4 separate regions of the Homo sapiens genome follow, and regions 1, 3 and 4 are each linked to region 2. Evidence: promoter capture Hi-C in 16 types of primary human blood cells and fetal thymus (Javierre and others, 2016). All regions are on one chromosome and are shown on one strand. The core of a region is centred on a gene start or on the middle of the fragment in contact, and the rest is flanking DNA. Distances in the headings are between cores, read along the strand shown.

Evidence for each region. The method cuts DNA at HindIII sites, captures the fragments that hold promoters and counts their contacts. A CHiCAGO score of 5 or more calls a contact.
Region 1: a contact is called between the fragment with the promoter of MTX2 here and the fragment with the promoter of LINC01116 in region 2, in 1 of 17 cell types (endothelial precursors). The highest score is 5.0, in endothelial precursors.
Region 3: a contact is called between a fragment that was not itself captured here and the fragment with the promoter of LINC01116 in region 2, in 1 of 17 cell types (endothelial precursors). The highest score is 6.8, in endothelial precursors.
Region 4: a fragment that was not itself captured here is called in contact with the fragment with the promoter of LINC01116 in region 2 in 1 of 17 cell types (fetal thymus); the score reaches 5.1 in fetal thymus.

What each region holds. Positions count from the first base shown.
Region 1 is chr2:176,266,376-176,271,361 of GRCh38, forward strand. MTX2 (metaxin 2) reads left to right here and starts at 3,067. Exons shown (of 10, transcript NM_006554.5): 1 at 3,067-3,294. The coding sequence starts at 3,255. RefSeq lists enhancers at 2,708-3,335, 3,336-3,961 and a silencer at 2,914-3,003. The HindIII fragment of the contact is 3,129 bases long and covers 1,269-4,397 here.
Region 2 is chr2:176,634,296-176,639,304 of GRCh38, forward strand. It overlaps LINC01116 (long intergenic non-protein coding RNA 1116), which reads right to left and starts at 3,314. Exons shown (of 5, transcript NR_188023.1): 1 at 3,167-3,314. It overlaps LINC01117 (long intergenic non-protein coding RNA 1117), which reads left to right and starts at 3,459. Exons shown (of 4, transcript NR_110599.1): 1 at 3,459-3,713. RefSeq lists a silencer at 3,924-3,973 and an enhancer at 4,134-4,648. The HindIII fragment of the contact is 4,643 bases long and covers 2,420-5,009 here.
Region 3 is chr2:176,231,968-176,236,680 of GRCh38, forward strand. No RefSeq gene overlaps it. Among named protein-coding and RNA genes, the nearest start is that of MTX2, 35 kb to the right of the region's middle. The HindIII fragment of the contact is 1,529 bases long and covers 1,781-3,309 here.
Region 4 is chr2:176,198,406-176,203,330 of GRCh38, forward strand. It overlaps the pseudogene RPLP1P4. Among named protein-coding and RNA genes, the nearest start is that of HAGLR, 12 kb to the left of the region's middle. The HindIII fragment of the contact is 509 bases long and covers 1,356-1,864 here.

The DNA.
Region 1 (4,986 bases), core at 1,817-4,316, 370 kb before region 2:
TGTGGGAAGCAAAAGAACCATCAGTCAGGGGGAAAAAGTGAATCCATATGGTGCTGATGATTCTGCTTCCCTGGCTAAAATGAAGAAAGAGTTGAGTATCGACAATGCCCCCGGCACATCTCTGTTTTTTTCTAAAAAGCATGCTGCTATGGCTTGAATATTTGTGTCCCTCAACAACTCATATGTTGAAACTCAATTGCCACTATGGTAGTATTAAGAAGAGGTGGGGAATTTAGGAGGTAATTAGGTCAAGAGGGCTCTGCCCTTATGTATGGGATTAGTGTCCTTATAAAAGAGGCCCAAGGGAGTTTATTTGCCCCTTTTGCCCTTCTGCCATGTGAGGACATGTACAAGGTGCTATCTGTGAGAACTGGGACCCCCAAGACACTGAATCTGCTGGTGCCTTGATCATGGACTTTCCAACCTCCGAAAGTCAGGGCAGTATATTTCTGTTTATAAATTATCCAGACTAAGATATTTTGTTATAGCAGCCCTAATGGACTAAGGCACTTGCCATAATAAAGATGATTGGTGTCAGTCCCAAACCAGTACCTTCCAGCCAGCTCAGTTCATGCATGTATCATGCATCAAGCCATGGGTACTTAACTTAAATTTTAAGGGCACATTCTACTTTGCCTCTAATCTTGCTCTGTTTCTCTTGCATCTGTGTCCAGTCTCTGGCTCTTTCCAGTCTCTTCCACTTTGGGGCTCACTTCTACCCTTTGGATATGTTTGATTTTGGTTTCCCCAGTTGAATCTTCATTACTCTCTAGGGACTTTGGCTCAAGTTCTCACACAGGCCCTATGATATGGAGAAATCTTAAACTTCAAATCTGTCAAAAAGTAGTCAAAATATTGTGTCTTCAGCTTTATAAAAATGACAAACCAAAATTAATAATAGAACTTAAAGTGATGATATGTCTTCTTCATTATTACAGTTATACATAATTCTCCACTGTGAGGAGAACAGACAGGGCCTGAAAGCTTTTCTTTTGATTGATAACAAAGTATCTGGAACAGCTCATTTCTCTTGGTCAATAATACCTATGGGATGAGGAGGAAATTGGATCTCATGTATTCTTTACTATCAGTGTTACCTCTCTCTGCACAAACAAGAAAAACCTATTAATATTATCTTCCCTGTATTTCTACTATTCACAGCTGCTTGTCAACTCTGAATTTCAGCTATAGAGAAGACACTACTTCCTAAGACGCTGCTGTGTTTATGTCAATGTAAATTATTGGGTAAATTTAAATGCTGTTTAAGAAGCTTCCTTTTGCTGAGGGAGATGAAAATATGACTTAACCTTAAAAAAATTATGGGGCTGGGCACAGTGGCTCACGCCTGTAATTCCAGCACTTTGTGAAGCCAAGGCGGGCGGATCATGAGGTCAGGAGTTCGAGACCAGCCTGGCCAACATGGTGAAACCCGGTCTCTACTAAAAATACAAAAATTAGCCGGGCATGGTGGCACGCACCTGTAATCTCAGCTATTTGGGAGGCCAAGGCAGGAGAATCGCTTGAACCTGGAAGGTGGAGGTTGCAGTGGGCCGAGATCACGCCACTGCACTCCAGCCTAGGTGACAGAGCAAGACTCCATCTCAAAAAAAAAAAAAAAAAAAAAGAAAAGAAAAGAAAAGAAATCATGTTAAGATGAGGTCCTGCTGGATTAGGGTGGGGGTCCCTAACACAATGACTGGTGTTATTTCTCAAGAAGAGAGAAATTTGAACACATTGACACACAGGGGGAATGCCGTGTGATGTGGTGGCAGAGATTGGAGTGATGTATCTACAAGCCAAAGTACATGGAAGATTGCCGGCAACCCCCTTCTCTGGAGCCTTGCAAGACAGCATGGCCCTGCTGACACCTTGATTTCAGACTTCTAGCCTCCAGAATTGTGAGAATGAATTTCTGTTGTTTAGCCAACCAGTTTGTGGTAATCTGGCAGCTCTAGGAAACCAACCACGCTAGTTAAGGAGGCAGAATGAACAGTAATAGAGATCTACGGATATAAAGAATGGAAATATAGCTTTCTAAATGTCATGGACAGTAATTCTTAGAATACAGGTTTCCTCTGCAAAAACCTAGTAAGCTGTCTGACTTTTTGATTTACTGTGTGATTTAAAATGAGTTACCTCACCTCTCTGAACTTGTTTCTCATCAGTGAAGGGGGCTTTGGGTTACCAGCTCTGAAGCCTGTCCCACTTGTAATACCACCAATCTGTAATGCATATGATTTTTCTTTAATTGTGTAATTTAAGAAGCTATTAGGTTAAGACAAAGTTACTCAGGGAATTTAGTTTCTCCTCTTCCTGCCCCGTTCACCCCCGAAAGGTGAGAAGTGTGTGAAACTAAAGTATCTTATTCTCCAAGCTGAGCATCATTTCGGGTGTATGGAGTTGAAGGACAAATTACCTTCTGGCTTAGGCGCTGCTCAAGCCTCCTTTCTGCCAAGCATGTTTGAATAAACAACAACAACAAAAAACACTAATGTCTATCCACGGACTAATCAACCCAGCAATATAATGGAATAGAGGGAATTCATGCAGCCTTGAATCTGGTCCTTGGAGGACTGCCTGGGCAGGCAGTTTAAACTCCTTAAGCCTATATTCTTATCCGTAAAATGGCGATAATATTATTACTTTAATGGGTTGTTGAGAAGACGAAGTCAAATAGAATATATGTGTATATATATGTATATATGTGTATATATGTACATGTGTACATATATACGTGTATATATTATATATGTGTGTATGTGTGTGTGTATATATGTATATATGTGTGTGTAGATATAGGTATATAAGTGCCTGGTATCCAGTGGGCGTTTACAAATGTTACTCGGTTACAAAATTCTGGCTTACAGAAAGGACGCTAAAAATCTCCCAGATTCCCCTGCCAGTCCCCTGGGTGGGAGACGAGTCGGGTACTTCGCTTCCACCTGCGGGCCCCCAGCGCAGAGCCTGGAATTGGCTGGACGGAGCTAGCCGCGCCGGCGCCCCGTAGGACGGCGCGGGGGCGGGGCCGGCGGAAGCGCTCGAGTGCCGTTGTCGGCTGCGCCGGAAGTCCCTAGCCAGGCCTGGCGGTAACCTTGGGGGCCTCACTGCAGCCGCCGCTGCTGTTGGAGTGGGCTTTGCGAGTCTGAACGTTGGCGGGGCTAGGCTCGTTAACTGCCGAGAGCCTCCGGGTTTGCGGTGGAGGACGCTGAGGCCCGTGGGGGGCAGGCACCCGGGCGCCGGGCCTCCCAGCCGACATGTCTCTAGTGGCGGAAGCCTTCGTCTCCCAGATTGCAGGTAGCGCGGCTGGCCGCAGACCCAGAAGGTGGCGGCGCGGTCTCGGGGAGCCGCGTGGGGTACAGGGCTGGAGCTTTCCTCCAGCCTTGCGGCATTATACGCTGAACCCGGCCCGGATGGTGGAGGCGGGCACGGACTACCAACCTTATCTCACATATGGGAAAACTGAGAAGGAGACACTTGGCCAAGGTCACCCCGCAGGAGCAGGAGTCCCGTCTCCTTCCCTTGGGCGGTACTTTGTCCCACCTCCCCATTCAGTTGGGAGGTGCTGGAGTATGAGGGGGAGGCCTTGGATTGGGATTGAGGTGGGGGGCGTTACCACAGGGGCAAGCATCTGAACGCTTCAGTCTAAGAGTGGTGGCAGTTTCTGGGTCTTGGTACTCAAAAAGTTTAAGGTGACTGTCACTAATCAGTTGTTACCTATTGTTGAGGGAACACCAGACTTCTTGCTTCGTCTCCCAGCGACACAGTAGTGCCATTTGCTAAGACTCTAGGAGTTATTTATTTATTTATTTGTTGAGACGGAGTTTCTCTTTTGTCACCGAGGCTGGAGTGCAGTGGCACAACCTGGGCTCACTGCAACCTCCGCTTCCCGGGTTCAAGCGATTCTCCTGCCTTAGCCTCCCGAGTAGTTGGGATTACAGGCGCCCGCCACCACGCCCGCGCGGATTCATGGAAAATTTTTAAATCTGCATGTACTTTAAAGAAATACTTTTGAGTCGGTGGACTGAACATGACTGATGTATATAGGTTTGTAATTTCTCTTATTGAGGTTTTTATTTATTGTAATGAAAGAAATTAAATATTGTTGAGAAAGTGAGGAGACTAAACATAGGTACTTTGAGATAGAGGCTAATGGAATTAGTCATAACTCCCTAGCAGTGTTTTCAACATGAGTACAGTAATGAAGACAGTCACCACAATAAATAGGTACATTTGAAGTAATAAGATAGTATTTTGGAAATGGGAAGTACAGAATGTGTCATAAAATTTGCCGGAATGTTTTTCACTGCTTTGCGTTTGTGTGAACGTACATTTCTTTTTTTTCCTTCTTCACTTAAAAACATTATTTTTTAGAGGAGAGAAGCTCCTACTAGATTGCAAGCTTCCTGAAAGTAGGGATCAAACTTGTTTTGTTCCCCATTGTATCCATAGTCAGTTGGTGCTCAATAAATATTTGCGACCCAAATCAATGACTAATCTTGAGATTTCAAGCAATGATTATTTCTGCTTTTACCATTTATGTTGAAACAAAATCAGGCTTATATAGTTAGATCAGCGATTTAATTTAGTTTGCTACTATGTTGAAAAAAAAAACTTCACAGTGTATGTTGAGTGGTTCACTGTGTGCATGTGTCCTAATATGTGATTTCTTTTAATGAGAAAATGATGAATGTCTTTTAATAAACTTTGGATACTGCTTTAAGTAGTGACGTTTAAAAATTTCTAGGCATTTTGTCTGTCTGCCGTCTTAGCTATTTGTAGTGATCTGTTACTCTAGGAGGAAGCATTTAAAAATGGATAATTCAATAAATGGTGTTGGAACAACTACTAAGTCATTACACCACATGAATAAATTCCAGATTGATTAAAGATCTAAATATAAAACAACAAAATTGTAATAAAATAATTAGAGGAAAACATAGATTATTTTAATAATCCTTGGATAGCAGAAGAGGCCTAAGCAAAACT
Region 2 (5,009 bases), core at 2,064-4,563:
AAAACTAAGAGAAGGCATCAGTCTACAGTGCAGTCTTAGAAAACAACTGATGGATTGCTTAAAATTGGAAAGACAGCCTAGAAGTGCCACAATATCAAGGCATAGGACTTCCTAGTAGTTTTACCCAGCTCAGAAGGCAAAGTCTAGATGGATTTCCTGCCAATCCCCAAAACTACCTAGGGCTGTGGATGCAGCAGTTTGAAACATGTGTCAATGCTAAATACTTGTCCAACTGGCTTGAAATAAAGGGAGGGCTGGGGGTGGGGATGGTTGAAGGGGGCAGAGAAATGGCATATGCTTTTCTCAAGGCAGGGCCTCTGTCCCCCAGCACTCGAAGAATTACTGAACAAATGTGTTAAGTGGGAAGGAAATGGATGGGTAAAAGCTAACTTCATCTCAGCACAAAAGAAGTTGTCCTTCCATGCTTACATTTTCAAAATGCAAAAATCCAAAAAGCATCGATATTGGAAAATTCTTGGGAAACTGAAAAGCTTAACCATATTCCATAATTTTATTAATTTAAGACCTTCCAAGCAGGGAGGTCAAACTTAACTCTGCTTCCAGCTTACAAAGCACGTCAACTTATTTTGTATGTATAGCTATAAACTGTTTGCAAGTTTCCTCAGTCAGGTACTCGGGATGAATTATGAATGGAATTAGCCAGCCTGACTTGGAATTTCCTCACTTTTACTGGTCTTTAAACAAGATTTTTATACATTCATATGTAATCGATGGAACCAACACATGAAATGGCCCTTCACATAAAACACTCTCTTTTAAAGTGATTTTGCAGTTAAGGAAACCTAAATATGAACTTCTGATGTGGAAAAGGTAGTTTTTATATGCTATTTAGAAACTGATCTGAAAAACTGATGAGCTGACCACAAGATTTCTGTCAGAAACTGAAATTAGGATTATATTTTAAAATACAATTGTAAATGCTTGCTTTCTTTTATAAAACCAATCTGCTTCTCATATTCCTAGCCTTAGTCACACTGAAAATACATAAATTTGGTATTTGGTTATTGAGTTTTGAAGTTGCAAGGCAGGATAATTTAGATATTCATAAATACAGAGCATAAGAAAATCCTTCCTGAGTGCAAAACTATCTTTAAAATAATCATCCAAAGGAGTGAATGCCACACCTCCTGATTTAATTTTGGCTATTAGCTATTCATTCCTTAATATACATTCTTCCACATAAAACTTGCACTGTCTTAAAACTTGCCTACAAACTGGCATGTCCAAATTGTGTGCATAAAAAATAAGATGAAGATCGATGCCAAGTTTTCAAGAAAGAAATGAATTTGGATTGTTTATTACACCAACAAGACACATGTTCAAATTTATCCCCTGTATATAAAAAGATTAGTATAAAATATTTCTCAATTGTTTATGCAGAAAGTAGTAGGGAACAAATTCCAATAATTTTTATCACATAGCTGATATAGCTAAATATTTGGAACCTTTAAAAGAAAAGTGCTAATTAAAATACATATAAATTTTTCAAAGTTTAAAAAGCAGTTGGAAAAATACTTCTACCACTTAGAACACAATTACCTGCACAGCTTAATAGTCTTATGGATTTCAGTAGTAAAATATGTTTAGAAACATCTTGTCTTTTCCATTCCCTCAAACACACAGTGGGCTGAGAATATAACTCTTCATAATATATTAAAAAGTATCCACCATCTTGAGAAAACTATATATTATGGTAATAATTTTTACATCTGATTATGCCATTTTTAGACTATGGAATATAGTTTCTGAATTCTTTTGGGGGGAGGGAAATGGTGTGGAAAAACTACTTTTAAAACGTGCTTCTATCTTCATTTAAAATGTATAAATTCTCAAGTTTCTTAACAAAAAACTTTGATCCCACTATTTTATATAGACTGCATTTATAGGCTTGGAAATCCTGTTCTCTCTATTAAACTCCTTAGACAGGATTATATTAATCTTACTTAAAAGAAAAAACTACTTACAGCAAACATGGCACTCAAAAGAATTAAAAATAATACTTGCAATATTTTAATATTTATGAAAATCTGTTTTTTGAAAGACAGATGAACTTAGAAATGTGAACACACAAAAAAATACAAGTATAAAGTTTCCTTTCGAAACTTTTCCTTTCAAAGAAATATTTATCCCACATTTCTACATGCAAAACTTTTAGTGTAAACTATTGAGAAAATCCTAAATAGTAAAACATTTGTTTCTGTAAGTCCATAAGCACTTGCTGTACATACTCAGAGGCAGCCCTGGCCCACTGTATCCGCAAATGCATCTGCAGGGGGAATGGTTCCAAGCCAGTCACTGAGTGTCATCTGTCCCTTCTCCAGGGGCAGGGACATTGAGTCACAATGAAATTTTATTATTTATATACATTATTTTAAATTCTGTTTTTCTTAGAGCTCAAAGCTTTGACAGTAAATGTCAAACCACACTGAAGTTGACTTGTTAGCTTTTGTAGCTAGCCTTACTGCTGTCGGCTATTTCAAATTGCAAATGACAATAAACAGGTGGTTTTTTCTTTTAATCACTAAAGAACATCCCTTTTCATATAGCTAATATAACAAAAAAGTCTAAAACATGGGCATATAATTCCCACTGTAAATTAATTATAATTATTTCAGGCTTAAGTATTAATAGTAAGTGAATTCTTTTCAAGAGATCCTTGGCGGTTCCATTTGCCCTTGAACATTAACCCTGCCACCTCAAAACTCAATGCCTTTGCACTTAGTCTAGAAAATTAAAAATACAACTCGTCCTCATCCTAGTAACCTGCGCAAGTCTCTACAAGAGACTGGAGGATCTACGTGGTAACTAACTTTAACTTACCTCTTCTAGGCTTTATTAACGAGTTTATCAAAAAATATTAACTTTCAGGCAAGATGTGGCTAATTCTTAAATGCAGCTTAAAACTTTCGACATCCCCTTGTAAAAATGATGCCACGAAATGTGCCACTGTCCATTTATTTCCCATTTCACTTAACGCATTAATATTGACCCTTCGGACAGCAGCGCTGGCATCATTTTGGAGCTGCAAAGCAAGACGTGGCGCGTTGATGAGCTAAAAAGGACCCGTCTTTCTCTGGGCCCCTTACCAACATCTCTCTCCCTAGAAGACAAATACTTTTCAGATCTCGCACCCCTCTTTACAAACCTGAGCGGGGCTTTCGGGGTAAGGGGAGGCAAGACTTTGGTGGGAGCTGCTCGTCTTCAGCAAAGCGAGGGCCGGCTGCAAAGGCGCAGGCTGGCAGTTCGGGTCATTTCCTGCCGATTCCCCATTCCCCTCGGAGCAGCTTGGAGAGGAAGTCGGACTTCTTTTCCAGGCGGAGCCTCCACGATGGGCGTGGGCGCCTCGTGCGTGGGCCGGGGGCCTCGTGCGTGGGCGGGGATCGGGGCCTGGGAAAAACGGGAACCCGGTACCCGCCCGCGCCCTCGCGCGTCGGCCAGGAACCTCGGCCCCATGCGGGCGGGCCAGCGCGGCCAGGAGGGCCGGGAAGAGGGGTCCCCGGGGCCCCGGATGCGCTGAACTCCGGGGAGGGGATGGGCAGGAGAGAGAGCACACTCCTGGAGCCGCGACGTCCAAACCCGGACGCACTTGAACCCGCAGCGAGGCCCGTGGCTCGCGGCCTTCGGAGAGCACCCGCGCCCCGCGCAGACCGGACGCCGGCCTTGCCCGATCCTCGGCATCCTTCGGCGGGGCGGCCAGTCCCAGGGCGCTCGCTGAGGGCCACACCCTGGCCCCAGAGTTTAGCACCGCCGCGGGCAGGGCGCTCCGCTCCCGGACCCCGAATCTGAAAGCGGAGACCAAGGGCTGCCTGCGGCAAAGCTCGACATACACTTGATTTTCTTCCGATTTGGAGAAAATGTCACGGGCGAGAGCAAAAAAAAAAAAAAAAAAAAAAAAAAAAACCCTAACTGTAAATATTATTTGGAGGTGGGCGAGGGCGCGGCGTGCGCGCGGCGGCGGGTGGCGGGCGGCGCGGGCGCCCTTGCGGGGATTCCCGGTCTCTCAGCGCGCCCTAGTGGACGCCCTGCCTTTCGCTGGCTCCCCGTGCTCGTTACAATCTGCAATATATTATTTCTTCCGAAGTATTGACAATGTGTGAGACTCCAGTAACCCCGGAGCTCTCGTCTGTAATCAGCACATTTATCCACATTTAAGGGGGAAAATCCGAATTAAATCCCCGTGACCCTGATTGGGTTACAGTGTCATTTTCCCTGGATCCTCTTTTAAATCCACTCCACACTGCTTCTCTGTCTATTACATGCTAATTTAATTTTACTGTGGAAGATATTTTCAGGATTTGCTGAGGACAGTAAATTTTGTAGTTTATGTTATTTCACTTTTTATGACTTTTTAACACTTAATAAAATTTTATTAGAGCACTTTTGTGTTTACAAGGCCACAAAACTCTTGGCAGGTTGTCAGAAGTCCTTTTTATTATGATCCTACTGATATACTGCGAGTAATGAAATAATCATGTCCAGAAATGTATCAAAGGCCAGAGGGATTATCCCACTTAATAGCTCCACAGATGCGCCCAGAAGAATGTGGACGCGCGACAGGACGGGCTGAAAGGCTGCAGGAGGAAGCAGGCAGCCCCGGCTCCTGGCTTTACCATTTCGGTTGCTTTCCTAAAAGGCTACATGCAGGGTCATGTGACTTTCCGCGGTCTCAATAAAAAAAAAAAAAAAAAAAAAAAAAAAGAATTTATTCTATTGCAAAATGTGCTTTTCTTTTTATACTCCTTGTGTGGGCATTTAAGACTGTTCTAGTGGCAGTGGGGTTGGCTGTACATATCCATGTCAGTCACCGCGCCCGGCCCCACTTTCTTCTCATTTCTAAGTGTACTTTTGTGGCATTTAAACTGCCGATGGTGACTTTGGTGTTGAGCGGTGTTGTTTCCACAGCCCACACTGAAGGCATTGGGAGGGACCCAGGAGGGCACAAGGTGTTTTAAGGCCCTTTCCCACCTGCCAAACACCTTTTGCTGTTG
Region 3 (4,713 bases), core at 1,295-3,794, 400 kb before region 2:
ATTTTGTCCATAACTTTCTTCAAAACTTTTATTTTTATATAGTTATCTATTTAGGTGCTTTATTTTTGTTTCAGCCAGCATGTTCTTCTCACATTTGTAGCAATTTGCTCATGATCTTAGGTCTTCTTTTTAATTTTCAGGCCATTGGAACATCCTTCTCACTTGTGTCTGGAAGGCACTCGGTAATGCCCCCTCCCCACCAGCGCTTACTCTGCTGCTGGACTAAGTCCTAAACCGTTTTTGTAGACCCAGTCTGGCGTTCCCCCATCTGTCTGAGACTCTCTCTGCTGGTGACTCTATAACTCATTTGTCCATCGAGTTCTCACCTTGTCATTTGGATTGGAAGGACACCAGTAGTCTTCAGGTTATAACTTCAGCATCATCTCCTGGCTCCCCCATTCTAGCAATTCCTTAATGTCATCTCAGGACATGCTCTCCCATGTTCCACTTAGAAGGAGACATGATGCTCCCTCCCATCAGACTTGATACAGGTTTGAGGTGGTACTCAGATGCTCTGTTCCTTAATTCAATTTAATTAATTTATTTATTTTGCTAATTAAACATTGATTTGTGGAAGCTGGTGAAATGGGTAGGACCAGAAACCAATCCAGAGGTGGGCTCAGTGCTGAGTGCTCTAGATAAGCCAAACTCAAAGTCTTAGCAGAATTAGAATATGCATTGACAGAAAACCAATAACTGCTATTTACAGCTATTACTTTAATATTTGTTGCTCTTATATTGTTTAAGTCATTTTTATAACAAAGATGAATTAACTGAACTGTGAAAAACATAATATTCCTTAAGGATTCTCTAGCCAAAGGAGCAATAAATTTCAAGGTAGAGAAAAAAGAATAAGTATTAAGACTGCATTCACCAGCAGGGCGCAGTGGCTCACGCCTGTAATCCCAGCTCTTTGGGAGGCCAAGATGGGCGGATCACGAGGTCAGGAGATCGAGACCATCCTGGCTAACATGGTGAAACTCCGTCTCTACTAAAAATACAAAAAATTAGCCGGGCGTGGTGGCGGGCGCCTGTAGTCCCAGCTACTCAGGAGGCTGAGGCAGGAGAATGGCGCGAACTCGGGAGGCAGAGCTTGCAGTGAGCCAAGATCGCCCCACTGCACTCCAGCCTGGGCGACAGAGCAAGACTCCGTCTCAAAGAAAAAAAAAAAAAGACTGCATTCATCTAGGCAGAATGAACCAGGAATCTATAATAAATTATCAGTTAGAATTAGGTTTAGCTGCAAGTAACAGAGACACAAAAAGTAATATAGTGACTTTAACAAGATGGAGTTGCACTTTTCTTTCATCTAAAAGTCTATAAGTCAGCCGGGCGCCGTGACTAAGCCTATAATCCCAGCACTTTGGGAGGCCCATGTGGTCAGATCACCTGAGGTCAGGAGTTCGAGACCAGCCTGGCCAACATGGTGAAACCCCATGTTGTCTCTACTAAAAATACAAAATTAGCCAAGTGTGGTGGCGCATGCTTGTAGTCCCAGCTACTCAAGAGGCTGAGGCAGGAGAATTGCTTGAACCCTGGAGACAGAGGTTGCAGTAAGCTGAGATCGTGCCACTGCACTCCAGTTTGGGTGACAGAGCAAGACTGCCTCAAAAAAAAAAAAAAAAAGTCTAGAAGTAGGCAGTCTTTGAAATCATCAGGGATTCAAACTTCTGTCTTTTTGTTTTCCTGTCTTTGATGTTCCATCTCATAGTCCAAAGTGGCTGCTAAAGTTCCAGCGATTACATGTGCATTGCAGCTAACAGGAAGGGATATTATATAAAGCTTAGTCATGTGGTGATACCTAGCTGGGAAATGTCTTTATTCCAGGTGACTAAATTTGTTCTGGTGGGGTTTATTCCAGGTTGCTCAGCTAAAAATCAGTATTATTGCAAGGAAGAAGGAAAGAATAAATGTTGGGGAATAGATAAATATGATGTAACTGGGAACTATTGGGAATAAAGTATCCATGAGAATTTAATGAAATCAAGTCTCAAAAAGTTTGTCTTTCCACGTTAAATACATAATTTAAGATATACATTAAACCATTTTCAGGAAGAGTTTTCTAATAAAGCTAAAAGCACCACTCTCAAGAACCTGGTGTCAGAAGCACATCACAATTGATCACTCTTAATGTAGGTGTTAGGAATGAAGAAGAGCGAGTGAATGTTGAAAACAAAGGGCCTCAGAGACTTATGGATAAATGGACTCTGGAAGGATAACAGCAGCCTGCCACGACTTGAGGAATGATTTTGATCATTGTCAGTGGAGTTACTCTGAATCACAGATTTGGGACTTAGGGAGTTTTATTTTAGTCTCATTCTCCTAAACAGCCTTTCTGTACTTGGCTTTAAAAATCAGAGAAAGAAATTTCAGCTCCAAAGGACAATAGTTTTTTTCAAAGGGGCATTTCTTCCTCTAAAATGAGTCAGTTGCAATCCTGACTTGCCATTTCCTGCAGCAATAATATAACCAGTGGTGCTCTAAGTTAACTTAATGGACTTACCTCACTATTAGGGAGTGATTTATGTACCGCAAAGAATAGAGTTCACTTTGTGTGAAGAAAAAAAACAAAACCCAAAGAACTTTCCACATAAACCAGCCCTCACCATCATATTTTGGCCCATTTATTCCCTCTGGAGGATGATTAGACCTAAACCCCTGGCAGGTGGGGACTCTTTTTCACTGGGTGTCCTCAGTGTCTAGCACAGTGGTCCTCATAAAGCTGGCTCTCCAAAAATATTTGTTGAAACAATCTGAAAATGGTTCATAGAGACAATGACAAAAAGCACAAAATAAAAATTAATAACACAGCTTTTTGTTGGTCTTAAATCATTTCTAGTAGCTCTAAGATAAAATGAATTCATAATAAGATGGTACTGATACTGAGAAGTCTTGAGTGTAAAGAAGTGATGAAGGAAAAATATTTATTTGACAACTGCCCTTCAGTGTGAAAAATCCATAGCTGTAAACCACAATGAAGCAAAGAAAACCTAATCTGTAAGAGCTTAAGCATTTTACCATACTAGAGTTCAGGAAACATGTCTATTCCTTTTGCTATTTCTGTTTGCCAGTTCTTCTGCCATTTGCCAAAATAAAGATGTCCCTTCTCCAGCCCAAACTCAGCTGCAAAGGTGAACTAATGACTTTAGAATAGAAGACAGATGCTTCCTGCAGGAGGATTCTGGGGGAAGACAAAGAATGTGTAACCAGTACTGGTTACAGTATTTGTGAGGCCCCGTGCAAAATGAAAACACAGGGCCCTTGTTTTGAAATCTGGGGAAAAGTGCCATTAAAGATACTTAAAGGTAAAGCTTTTTTCTTGCTTCCACAGTCTTTCTCTTGACTTGTCATGGTGTTGTTTGTTATTTAATGCTGGTCTAAGTGAAGAAAAATTAAAAATTTAAATTATTGGCATAATTTTTAAAAACCATTCATCTTTATATTATGGAATGCCAGTTTTAAATGCAAAACTGTATTTAGAACCACTGATATAATATAATTTGTATTTTGTAGCTTGTGCATGCATATGTATTTTGTTCTTACCAGAACACTGGAAATGATGCAAAAAACCTAACAACTGTTTTTTATTCCACTTTTTGATACATGCCTGTTCTACCAACACTCTGTGGAAGCCAGTGGCTCCCATAAAATGTTTATCTATTTGCTTCCGTCTTGCTGATCTCCCATGCTGGGTCCACTGGAATTCTCTGCTCATGGAACATCAGAAGGCTGTATGCAAATGAGGTGGCAAGGAACACCATACAAACATATTGTGCATATTGTTCGTGCACAAAATGTTTCTTTGGGCTTCACTTACAAAACAAGTTTAAGATAACATTATTATGAATTTCAAGATGGTGACCGCAGAGCATTAAACCAACCATGAGACACTTCTGACCGTGGGACTCTGTGACTGTGCACATCATGCACCCTTGAAACCAGCTCTGCATGTCACCAAGGTAAGAGTTGCCTTTCTTCTTCTTCTCTTTTTCAGTAATTTGAAGAATCAGTAATCACTGGAAGAACACAAACAAAATAAGCACATGCCAATGGGGAAGCATTAAAAAACAACTTGGTAATGGATAACTCAAGCCTCAGATGAATCTTGAAATGTGGTAAAAAAAAAAAAAATTAATAGAAAAAAAAAACACTTGTAGTCAATGTTCATTTGAAAGCCATCTTTAATCATGTAGTTCTGTGGAAAATTAGTGGTTAAATTTTTTAAAGAATGAATCGTTTCTGTTTTACTGCTGCAAATCTTACAACTTTTTAAATATGAACGTTAAAACATACAGAAAGGTAATATAAAAGAAATACCCTCATAATTTTAATATATTTTGAAAATTTATTGCATATATCTACCATTTTTATTTTAATTTTTAATTCAGGCTGATAATATAAGAATAAGCAAGATACCAATCTTGTTTTCTTTTCATACCCTAAAATTTTGTATTACTTTGTTGATGTAAGACAGCAACATAATAGCCCCAAAGGAAAATCTATTAAACAATTTCAATTTGAAGGGTTTAAAGAAAGAAACAATGGTAAGTCATTAATGTGTTTTCATTTTAATGTATCTTTTTTATATTAGGGTGAAAAATTCAGTTATATTTTCAAATGATCAATACAAACATAAATAACTATGTTATAATGATATGGATAATCATATGACAAAAGGGCTGTGATTAAGCTGTATGCCTTCTTTGTGAATAT
Region 4 (4,925 bases), core at 360-2,859, 440 kb before region 2:
GAATGCAATGATGATTTACATACATTTCCTACACTGTAGCACCTCCCCAGGGTTGAATTTATCATTCTTTAAAATAGAGAGGTTCAGGTTGTGTTCTGTGGACATCAAAGTGAGAAGAGGAGTGATCAACCACATTAACTCCTGTTGCTGCAGAAAGGAAAAATTCTTCCCTCTACCTACTCTGGCAGTGGGGAATTGTGAATTTTCTCAACTGTGCATAAAACTGTAACTATTTCCGGCCGGGCGCGGTGGCTCACGCCTGTAATCCCAGCACTTTGGGAGGCCGAGGCGGGTGGATCACGAGGTCAAGAGATAGAGACTATCCTGGCCAACATGATGAAACCCCGTTTCTACTAAAAATACAAAAAATTAGCTGGGCTTGGTGGCAGGCGCCTGTAGACCCAGCTACTCGGGAGGCTGAGGCAGGAGAAGGGCGTGAACCCGGGAGGCGGAGCTTGCAGTGAGCTGAGATCACGCCACTGCACTCCAGCCTGGGCGACAGAGTGAGACTCCGTCTCAAAAGCAAACAAACAAACAAAAAACGAAAACCAAACAAACAAAAAAACTCTATTGCCATTGTGGGTCTATAAAAACCTACCCTTAAACTGAAAAAAATAAATAAAAACTTGCTGCAAAAAGGACACGTTGTGGTCTAATTAATGGCTGAAGGACAGTTCTATATAAATAGAAATTATTTTTCCTGATTGCTTATGATCTAATTGTCAAAATAGTGTTAGTATTCAATTGCCTGTATGAGTAATTACTCTATCATATGTAAATGTTTACATCTCCTCTTACATCTGAAACTTGAGTCACATTTTGAATATGTGAAGTGTGTTAGCTTCATATAGGGGGAAAAAAACTACTCGCTTATGAAATAATTGTAGGTCGGGCACCGTGGCTCATGTGTGTAATCCCAGCACTTTGGGAGGCCGAGGCGGGCAGATCATCTGAGGTTGGGAGTTCAAGACCAGCCTGACCAAAATGGAGAAACCCCATCTCTACTAAAAATACAAAAATTAGCCGGGTGTGGTGATGCATGCCTGTAATCCCAGCTACTCAGGAGGCTGAGGCAGGAGAATCATTTGAATCTGGGAGGCGGAGGTTGCGGTGAGCTGAGTTCACGCCATTGCACTCCAGCCTGGGCAACAAGAGTGAAACTCCGTCTCAAAAAAAAAAAAAAAAATTGTAGAAAAGGTAGATTCTATGTGAATATATAAAATGAGCTCCAAATGATGAATTAAAACAACAATATTTCTTATTCAGACAAAAATAGCATACTATTTGTCCCTAAAAATCTTAAAAAGATTTAAAATTTAAACTTCCTTGGGTTAACCTGCCAAGAAAGTCCAATAAGCTTCTGTTTTGACTGCAAATAAAAGCACACATACAACCAGAATAATCTATTTTTCTAGCAGCATATGGTTCCTTTGGGAACTTCAGAAACAACTGTGTTTGTATGCTTCAGAATTGTCACATGGGGAAGCTATCTGAGAATTCTCAAGGCCTGTTTTTATTAAAGGTTTGTAATTTGGGGCTTGGCCCTTGATTTTAAAAAATTTACATATTTTAGAGGACAATGTTATCTCAATTGGTTCCATGTAAACACAAACAATTGCAGCTTAGATATTTTAGTACACCAATGAAATGAATGAACTTTGTTCTGAATGAACTAAGAGGAATAAAGGTATTGCTTTATACCTGTCCCTAATTCAACATGTGTCACAATGACAAAGGTAAGCTAGCTGCAATTCATATGTAAATAAAGACTAAAGGTTTCAGATGTTCTATTTCTGCCTCCTTCCAATTTTAGTTATAAAACATAATTATCATTTGGAACTCAAGATGAATAGATTTAGCTTAAAGCTTTCTCAATTAAGATTATGTAGTATTAGAATTGCTTGTTTATTTATTTATTTACTTTTTTTTTTTTAAATTAGAGACAGAGTCTCACTATGTTGCCTAGGCTGGAGTACAGTGGCTATTCACAGGCACAATTATAGATAACTAACTATAGCCTCTAGCTTCTGGGCTCAAGCCATCCTCCTGCCCCAGCCTCCCCAGTAGCTGGGACTACAGGTGTGTGCCACCATGCCCAACTGATTTATTTGTTATATTTTTAATTTTAGGAACACTTTAATAAAGTTCAACAACACATTTGGATTGCTAAAAAAATCCAAACTTGTAAATATTTTTCTCCCATACTTCTAGAGGGCTCTCTTAGTGAAGAAGAAACAGTTATCTGTTAGTTTCATCTGGTTTCTCTCTCTTATTACGTCTAAGTAAATGTAAATTTAATATTTTTATTTAAAAATAGCATGCATAATATGTATCCAGTTTTATAAAATTATTTCTATGTACCAAGTTATTTATGCACCGATCACTCCTAATATCTGAGTGTCTACATAGAGCTGTCAAGAAAGATGTTCACCTAATATTAATGATGGTTACTTCTTTTTTTTTTTAAGTTCAGCTTTTTATTGAACACGTTATAAAAGAGGTTTAGTCAAAAAGACCAAGGCCCATGTCATCATCAGACTCCTTGGATTCTTCTTTCTTTGCTTCCACTTTCTTCTCCTCAGCTGGAGCAGCAGCAGTGGAGGGGGCAGGACGTCCTGCTGGTGCAGCACCAGCTGCTGGAGCAGGTCCACCAGCCCCTACATTGCAGATGAGGCTCCCAATGTTGACGTTGGCCAGGGCCTTTGCAAACAAGCCAGGCCAAAAAGGTTCAACATTTACACCGGCTGCTTTAATGAGGGCATTGATCTTATCCTCCGTGACTGTCACCTCATCGTCGTGCAGAATGAGGGCCGAGTAGATGCAGGCGAGCTTGGAGACGGAGGCCATGGCACGGGCGAGTGTAGGGCAGGCGCTGCCGGACGCGGTGCTAGTCGCAGGATGAAGTGAGGGCCTTACCCCAACGCGGCCTTAGCTTCCTCGGAAGGACCGAGCAGCTTGGCGGCAGCTGAGGGAAGGGGTCGGTTTCTTCTACATAGTAAGATTTTGTTGACATTTTTTTCTTTGTAGTGATTTTCTGTTTTGCTTAAAATTTAAATAATTAAATTCAGAAATAATAAAGTCATTACTTTCAAATATAAGAAAAAGGGCAAAATTCATCTGGTAGCCACAGTCATTGCATTTATTTTTGCCAGTGGAAGGTCCCAGAGGAATTAGATAATGCTTCTCATGTGCCAATTCTTGAATAATTAAATAAAAATGTCTGTGATATACATGGGTGTACACATGAGTCAAATAAATGATAGATAAGGTCTATCATTCATTTCTTCAACAGGGAATTGAGCATTTGAGTGTCACATATGTTCAATTTTCATCCTACCAGTTGGAAACAAGTTCTGAATTGTGTTGATAAAAGTGGAATTCACGATTAGCAAAGTAATAAGAAAAGTATACCTTTAGCTTAAGTAAAATGGAGAATCCAAGAAATGTGGAAAACTATTCTATCATTTTTCTATACTTATAATACAAAATTAAAGAAATGTTAAAAGCAAGTTTATAAAGATATAGGCACACTTTTTAAAGGATGCATATTTTTAGTAAGCTTTGCAGTTTTCTAGGGAGCAACACTAAAATATTCTTTAATTTTTGTTGTAGCAAGATTTATAAAATTTGATAGTGGTCTGTGTAACATACATACAAACACAAGTCTAATTAAGCCTCAAGAAGGTTAGTAAGGGTTAGGTAACCATACTAAGAAAATGCTAGTCCTTCCATTAGTTTTATTTAGAAGTTGGCTTATTTCACTAGCAACTTGATCACTCGGGGTATGCCTGAGAGGACTTAAAACAGATTTTTTTTTTTTCCAGATGGGGTCTCACTCTGTCGCCCAGGCTGGAGTGGAATGGCGTGATCTTGGCTCACTGCAGTCTTAACCTCCCAGGGTGCAGGTGATCCTCTCATCTCAGCCTCCTTCCTGAGTAGCTGGGACTACAGGCGCGCACCACCACACCCAGCTAATTTTTTGTAGAGATGGGGTTTTGCCATGTTGCCCAGGCTGGTCTCCAACTCTTGGAATCAAGCAATACGCCTGCTTCAGACTCCCCAAATGCTAGAATTACAGGTGTAAGCCACTGCACCTGACTGTCAGATATATTCTTTTTCTAATGGTATTAGGTATCTTCATTTGGCTGAAATTATTTAAATCCTTTGGAGGATCTATTACATAGCTGCCATTGTTTTGGCTTGCCCAGTATTCGTTTTCTGTCCCTCTAACGACCTGACACTTTTTCTGTGGGAAAAGGAACAGCTGATTCCCGTGCCCGTGATGGTGATACCTGCCCTGGCGCCTGTGCCAGAATTACATTCCAGGTGTTGCTGTTGCCTCCTGCGTGTGGAGTACCCTCCGAACCTAGTTTCCTAGCCCTCCTAGAGATAACTAAAGTTAATCATTTTTCTTTTTTAAGCTACCTTTAGTGGGTCCAATGTTTGCCACTCAGAACACAGTGTGATGCACTACCCTCAAGGAACTTACAAACTCAGTAGAAAGGAAGATTGGATAAGTCCAAAAATAATATTAAGTGCTTTATTGGCACTTCACATGCTTAGGACTGTGTCCACACAGCACAAAATGAAGCGGCAGGCTGGCAAGCATCCAGTTGCTTTAACAAATTTGGCAATGCATTGAAAACATAGGGCTACAATGTCGATCATAAGATTTCTGGAGAAGGGAACTCCACAACTTCCACTGGTAATTGGCTGCTAGCTGCTTCACAGACTCTGGCAATGGAGAAGTGAAGTCATTCTTTTCCCCCTCCATCTCTTTTGGTTCCTAAGAACTTTCCTTCTCAGCTCAAAGTGGGAATTTTGGACTGAGTGATGACAAAGATCCCAATACTAATTGCTTCTGGCTTAGTTTCATGGTTGGATTAATTTTAATTCCTTCTGTTTCCAAACCCTTCTGTGCTCCA